Regions from separate parts of the Homo sapiens genome. Here region 1 is linked to region 2. The links are contacts of gene promoters, found by promoter capture Hi-C in blood cells and fetal thymus (Javierre and others, 2016). All regions are on one chromosome and are shown on one strand. Each heading gives the region's core, a stretch centred on a gene start or on the middle of the fragment in contact. The rest is flanking DNA. Distances are from core to core; before and after follow the strand shown. Region 1 overlaps POLA2 (DNA polymerase alpha 2, accessory subunit). Region 2 holds the start of LTBP3 (latent transforming growth factor beta binding protein 3).

Evidence for each region. The method cuts DNA at HindIII sites, captures the fragments that hold promoters and counts their contacts. A CHiCAGO score of 5 or more calls a contact.
Region 1: a contact is called between a fragment that was not itself captured here and the fragment with the promoter of LTBP3 in region 2, in 1 of 17 cell types (monocytes). The highest score is 5.2, in monocytes.

Annotation. Positions count from the first base shown.
Region 1 is chr11:65,278,303-65,281,865 of GRCh38, reverse strand. POLA2 (DNA polymerase alpha 2, accessory subunit) reads right to left here. Exons shown (of 18, transcript NM_002689.4): 6 at 2,943-3,136; 7 at 2,240-2,328; 8 at 719-874; 9 at 134-196. Among named protein-coding and RNA genes, the nearest start is that of POLA2, 18 kb to the right of the region's middle. RefSeq lists an enhancer at 1,397-2,596. The HindIII fragment of the contact is 851 bases long and covers 1,420-2,270 here.
Region 2 is chr11:65,556,473-65,560,177 of GRCh38, reverse strand. LTBP3 (latent transforming growth factor beta binding protein 3) reads left to right here and starts at 1,819. Exons shown (of 28, transcript NM_001130144.3): 1 at 1,819-2,549. The coding sequence starts at 2,219. RefSeq lists silencers at 1,541-1,700, 1,751-1,990. The HindIII fragment of the contact is 7,741 bases long and covers 1-2,762 here.

The DNA.
Region 1 (3,563 bases), core at 596-3,095, 280 kb after region 2:
TTCCCACTTACAGATGGAGAACTGACTAACAAATAAATGGGCTCCTAAAAAGGACCAGTTTCTAGAACAGACAGCTTCCAGACATACTTTGTCTGAAGCAAACCAAGAGGCAAGTGGGGGTACTGCTGTGTACCTCGTAGAGTTTGGTGGCAACAAGTTTCCTACCAGTGGTGTTGATTCCTTCCATAATTACAACCTGAAAGACAAAAACAAACAGGATTGCTAAGCAGTGGAGATCAATGAGGTCTGGAATACATTATTTTGAGGCAGTTAAAAGCATTGTCCAACTACTCTCATTCTGTAATCATAAACTTAGGGCATTTTTGTAGAAAACGAATTAAGGGCGTTGCATTAGTAATAATAATTATGCTCTATATAAGTGATCTAATTTTCACAACAATCCTATGAGGTAAGAATTATTATTTCCATTTTGTGAGTGAAGAAACTGTAGTTTAGATGGTTAAGTACCTTGTGCACAGTCATGCACCTCATGGAGCGGGGAGTTGGGATTTGAGGCTGCGCAGTCAGGTCCCAGAGCCTGGGTCAGAGCATGGGGGAAACAGGAATCCCAACAGTGGTGTCTGCTCTGGGGCATGTGCTCCAGCTGCACCCCATGGCAGCAGAGACAGGAACTGAGGAGCAGCTGCGCATGGCACAGCACCTACACTACAGGGGTAAAGAGTGCGCCTGCATTCTGGTGGAACTCCTCCAATCTCACCTGTCCAGGAAACAGAGAATATTCCTTAAGCTCAGATAAATCCACTGGAATTTGAGCACCCGAGGAATGTTCCCGGTCTCCCTCGAGAATCACTGACTTGTTGTTCAGCTTCCCGTTGCTATCACAGCCAATCTGGCCCAGCAGAGTGACAGGCTCCTACCAAAGGAAGGTCACAGCATAAGAATGACAGTCTTTGGAGCAGGAGCTCAAAATCTGAAGTCGATAGGGTGAATAGCAAAACAAACTGCAAACAACAAATACATTTCTTGGCAGGGCATTGCTTTGACCCTGAGGTGACTACCGCGTCATCACTGACTCTCAGGATGGAAGAACTCTGAAAGGGCATCTTGTCCACCCATCCACCCAGCACTTGAGCCTTCCTAGGAGGCTGCCTAAGTGTGAGCATCTCTAGTGTAGGGGAACTTGCCCCTGGATGCCTACCCCACCCTGTCCTCACCACCCCAGGGCAGCCCACTGCATCTTTGGGCAGCTATAACTACTTAATAATAGCTAACATTTCTTGAGCTTACTAAATACCATGCACTGTTCTAAAATGTATTCTTAGGCATTTTATATGTATTAACTCATTTAATCCTTGCAACAACCATCGGGTGGATATTACTGTATCCATTTTACAGATGAGGAAAACAAGCAACAGAAAGGTTAGATAATTTAGTCAAGGTCAAACTGTGGGTGAAGCTTGGGTTTGAAACCAGAAATTTGGCTCTAGAGCCATATCCTTAGCCACATACCATACAACCTCTTAACAGGAAGTTCTTTATTAATTGAGCTAAAATCTCTGTCTCCATGGCTTCCTCTGTTCTGTTCCCACTCTTGGGAGAAAACAGAGGAAGTCTCATCTTTCCCAGTGATTGTGCCTCCCTGCCTTCCCTCAATTACTTCCTTCCAAGTCCTCTAACACTTCCTTCTATGACACAGTTCTGCATCACTTCCCCAACTGATCATTCTTTGAATGTAAACATTGACAAAGGTACTTTAAAGAAACTTCTAGAATATATTTCCCCTTAGATTAGAAAACATTCTAGAGAGAAAGCACTGGTATATATGCCAGATTAAACTATGATATAAAGATACTATTGGCAGCAGTTTGTCTATAACAAGAGACCAAACCAGGGGAGAGACTGTGAGTCATTGTCCAGAGAACAAGATTCTGAAAACCCCACCGTCGCTGCTGTCCTTTTATCTCGATACGTGAATGCTTCTATTTGTGGGAAATCCCCGGGGAGCTACCTGACTCACCACCAAGGGAAACAAGGCCTTGAGTCTCTGCTTATGTGCAAGACTCTAATCCAAGTGGGAAGAAAATCACTCTCTGGCCACAAAACCAGACAGCACTTACAAATCTTTCTTCAGAAGGGCCCATTTTCCCAAATTCAACCAAGACAGATGTTCAAACTAGAACACAGACAAGAAGTGAAAAAGGAAGCAAGAAGGATGCCTCTTGGTCATCGATTTAAAAACGTAATATTAATTAGTGAGAACTATTAGAACAACTCTTACCTGTGCTGGGGCTAGCAAAGGAGTGAAAGCTTCAATCTTGTAATGTTCCTTGAGTTCGCTGCCAAGTTCTTCTATCTTACAGGTCAGAACTACAATCCCAGAAGTGGAAAAAAGTATTATGTTTAAGACATTTCACTTGCCAAGAAGAGAAAATACAGCACATTGTAAAATATTAAAGTCAGTCATTTTACAGAAGCAGGAAGGGTGCCTGGACATCTGGCCAGTTTAAACCTTCTAAAACCTTTGCCAATTTTCCGATATTTGGTTGCTGAATCTGGCCTTCCATCTGGCCACAGGAGACCCCATAGCACAATTCCAGGGAATCAGCATGAACCCCACCCCATCTCCAAGTCTGCCCTTTACTCAAGTCCTCACTGAGGTTTTAGGCAAGTCAAGGCCAACCTGAAGAAGGCTTCTAACGAAGGAACCATGAATATCTTTAAGTTGAATTCCTTTACATCGTTCAAGTTTTTGCTGCTGGGAATGGTTATGTGCGTTTTAGCAAAGTGAAGTGACTTGGGGCAATCACTGATAGTATTGCCCGTGTCCCTCCATTACTAGGGCTTCCATGAGGACATCTACCAACTCATACATTGAAAGGCAACCTTGGAACTTGTTCTACCAGCCTAGCTGAAGCTTTGTTACTCTACACCCTTCTAGGTGGTTTTATATCCACCAGAATTTCAAAGGGAAAAACAATCACCTTCTCGAATGTCTGGGAGCTTCTGAAACATGGATTTGTAGCTCCCAGTTAGTGCCTCTGGACATCCCAAGACCTTCAGGCTGATGTTTCCAGCTCCTCCTCTCCCAGACCAAGATACTCCCTGTGCTAAGCCGAAGGAGGTAACCACTTCTCCTCGGTTACTTCGTGAGTTGTATTTCTGGGAGGGAGTAGCACTAATTGGAAGCAAAACAGGTTAATATTACTGTGTTCATATCTAAAGGGAGAGAAGAATAAAATGAGGTTACCTTTGGAAATGGGGACTGGAGAAAAGGAAGGTGGCCTCATAGTTTATAAATTGAATCAGTTTAATGGGGTTGGACATACCCAGACCTTTAAGGAATTTCAGGAATGAAGGGCTGAGGAATACCAGGCTGAGGAATACCAAACATTTTTAGAGAAGTTTAGAGACAGAAACGTATTTTAAAAAGTTGTCGTTCTCTTGGCATTAAAACTAAGCAAGGCAAAAAGATCCCCAGATTCTGAATTGATTAAAAGGCAAACTTTAAGTCCCATTTTTTTCTTCTCATGAATTTTTAGCATTTATTGGAACATCATCTGAGCCTGCAACTGTGGATAAGCTAAAACTTGCTGAGCATATAT
Region 2 (3,705 bases), core at 570-3,069:
AGACTCTCTTTGTCTCCCAGGTCCCAGCCCTCTCCTGTCCTGCTTCCCTGCCCTTCTCTGTCACGGTACCAGCCTCTGTTGTAGCCACAGTTCTGTGTGAATTGATCTGGCACATATCCAGCTCTCCTAGTACAGCAGCTCCAGGAAGGCAGGACTGGTTCTATTTGTGGCCAAGAGCTTAGGATGTGGTGGAGTCTCAGTTTGTTGAGTGAATTTTTTACATTTATTTTTTAATTTTTTGTTTTTTATTACCAGTAGTTGAACATAGATGTTGAGTGAATAGATACCCATCTCACAAGCAAGGAAACTGGGGCTTAGAGACAGTAAGAATCCAACCCTGGACTGTTTGACTGTGCTGTGCTCCATGGTGAGCCACAGCCAGCTCTAGGCAGAGTCAGGACAGGTTCAGATGAGTGTTAGGAAAAAATGAGTATACAATGCTCAGCCCTGTGCCTGGCAGGTGGTCGGCACCTAGCATTATTCCCTGCCTCCGTGTGGACCAGGGCCCCAAGAAGCAGGGGCTTGCCCCTCACACCCCATCCTGGATTCCGGCAGCAGGGATCCCTGGGGACATGTGATTGTCCCTCCCAGCCCTGCACCGCTTAGTAAGGGGGACTTACTAAGCGTCCCCCTAAAGCTACCCACATCAACTTACGCTCAAAGTAAAAACAGAGTTCCTTGGACAGGTGTGCCTGAAAGTGAGTCCCTGAACCTCCTCTCCCCAATTAGACTGCTGCCCCGGGTGCTGTCCGGGAGAGGGTCTGGTGCCGCCCTGACTTGGCAGCGCTTTTCCTGGATGTGCCCTAGCCGTCCCCACCTCCTGCTGAGTTCTGTGAGTCAGAGACGGAACCCTGGGGTCTCCTGGCAGGCCCCACAGTAAGGCCTGGGCCCCCGCACGTTGCAGCCTTTCCTTCCAGACCAGCGGACAAGCCTGGTCTGGAACTATGCTCCTCTCCAGCCATGGCCAACCTGAAGACCCCCACCCCCAGCCGCTGCCAGCCCCTGCCCTGGGGCTCTGCTGTGCCCCTCTCCAGCCCCTGGGCCCTCGGACAGCGCCCCCGTCCTCCCGGCTGTTAGCCTGGGAAGGGGGCCAGGCCCTGAGCTCAGACCTTGGCGATTCCAGAGTGTCTGAGGCCCAGAGCCAGCCCCGCCAGCACGGCCAGACGAAAGGAAAGGGGGGAGGTGGCAGGGTGGGCACCAGGAAGCCATTCCGAGGGGGCTGGCAGGGAAGCTGGGTTCTAGCTTTGTTCTTTCTGCTCCTCTTCTGGACCCCACAGACTTCCTCCTGGGACCTCCGTGAGCCCTGGCCAAAGGCTGTCCCCACCCTTTAGCCCTTTCCTCAGAGGGGATTGGACCAGCACTAACGAGAAGTTACTTTGGGGCCCTGAGACCCCCACGTTTGCAAGGGAGGCTGGGAAAGAGCTGGAAGGCCTGGGCTCCGGCTCCACCCGGCCTCCATCGTCAGTGTGACCCGGCAGGGCCACCTCTCTCCCTCAGCCTCGGTATCTCGCTCTACGCAGGCCTCCCCGCCCCGCCCCGCCCGGAGGAATCCGCGGCCGGCCAGACGGTCCCAGGTGAGGGCCCTCTGGAAAGGGCCCAGCGCGGCCGCGGGTTCCGGCGGGGGCGGGCATCTGGGGTGGGGACTGTCCCCGCGCCACCCCCCAGCCTCCGCCAGCCTGCACACCCTCGCTTCTCCAGGCGGCAGAGGCGACGCTTTAAACAACAAAAAAAAAAAAACTGTGTCCCTGGCCCGGGGCCAGCGTCCCAGCCCCCCTCGCCGCCGCCGCGCCGCGCTCCAGCCAGGGAAAACAACTGCTCACTTCTCCCTGAGCCCTCCCCGCGCGCTCCCTGCCTCCCCGCGGCCGCGGGAGAGGAGCCCGGCCAGGGGGAGGCGCGGAGCGGGCCGGCCGCCCGGCCTTCCTCTCCCTCGCTCCTCCTCTCCGCCTCAACTTGCTCCGGCCTCCTCGCTCCTGCCTGAGTTCGGGGCCTGGTCTGGGCTTCGTCCTGGGGCTGGGAAGTTTCTGCGCTCCCCGCTGTCCAGTCTGCATCTCCGCGCCTCCCGCCGGGCCCCCGCGGTCCCCTCCCGCCCGCTTCCCCCGCTGCCCTCCCTCGCTGCCCCCTACCCTCTCCCGGGGCTCCCGGCCCTCTACTCCCTTCGGGCGCGGGCCCCTCGCCCCGCCCGGGCGCGCCCCCCCTCCCCCGGGTCCTGCGGCCCCGGATGCCCGGGCCCCGAGGGGCTGCTGGCGGCCTGGCCCCTGAGATGCGCGGGGCGGGGGCGGCGGGGCTGCTGGCGCTGCTGCTGCTGCTGCTGCTGCTGCTGCTGGGCCTGGGCGGCAGGGTCGAGGGGGGGCCGGCCGGCGAGCGGGGCGCAGGCGGGGGCGGGGCGCTGGCCCGCGAGCGCTTCAAGGTGGTCTTTGCGCCGGTGATCTGCAAGCGGACCTGTCTCAAGGGCCAGTGTCGGGACAGTTGTCAGCAGGGCTCCAACATGACGCTCATCGGAGAGAACGGCCACAGCACAGACACGCTCACGGGCTCCGGCTTCCGCGTGGGTGAGGGCCGGGGGCACGGCTGGGGGCAGGGGAAGGACAGGCACCAGGCCCGGTGGGAGAGCTAGTGGGGTCTTGGCCTTAGAGACTGGGGGCTGAGGGTATAAAGGGCAGAGATCCGAGGGCCTGGGGGACCAGGGGCCTCAGGGAACTTGGGAGGCTGGAACTCTGGGGGCCAGAGTTGGAGGGCTGCATGGAGGCCTGGACTTTGAAGCTTTGCGTTAGGGTTGGGGCCTAAGGGGTGGGGAAATGCAGAGGTCCTGGATGACACTGGCTTCCCAGAAGGTGCTGAGTTCTGAGCAGGAGCACACAGGGTTTTTGAGGAATGTGAGCCGGGGACAGGAAGCCTCAGAGAAGGGCTAAATATTCCCGCAAGAAGCAGACTTGCTGGAAGAAACAAGAAAAGTCTTTACAAAATGTCTAAAGTAGGGCCTGCCAGAGTAGACACCTGCATTCCCTGGGAGGAGGAGCTAAGGTCAGGGCTGGGGATGGGAGCCGGCTACTGGCAAGGTCTGAGTAGGGAGGGTGTTGAGGCCTAAAAGTAGGGTGCAGGCCTGAAGGTAGGGACTAGTTCGGGGTTCTCAGCCTCTCCTTTTCCAATGCCTCCCCATAAGCTCCTAACATCCTGCCTCAGAGGCCCTCAGGGCCCCCCTCATCCTCCCCCAAGCCCCTACACCCTCCCCAGTTCAGCTTGGAGTCCACCCCCTCCCCAGCATCTCTCTTTAAAGGGCCAGGCCTGGGGCTCAGTCATCCTCCTGCTAGGCCCCGTGGGCCAGGCTCGGGGAGGTGTCCCAGCAGTAATTACCCTCCTGGACAGGGTAATTAGGCCAGGCCCAGGATGGCACCAGCAAAACAGCCCCTCTTACACATTCCTATATTCACTCTCCCACTCACAGAGCTAAGGAACCCCACTCATGTGGCTCAAATTTGTCATGAGATGGGGTGTGCGTGCGTGTGTCTGTGCGCATATTGCCCCTGTGTCTGGGGTCATGCCATGGGCATGGCGTGGCACACTGTGAAGTACCCGTCTTTGTGTTGTCTTGGGTGTGTGTCTCTAGTCGCTGTTAGAGAGTATGTGGGAATGTTTTTGTTTTTGTGTTTTTGAGATGGAGTTTTGCTCTTGTTACCCAGGCTGGAGTGCAATGGCGCAATCTCAGCT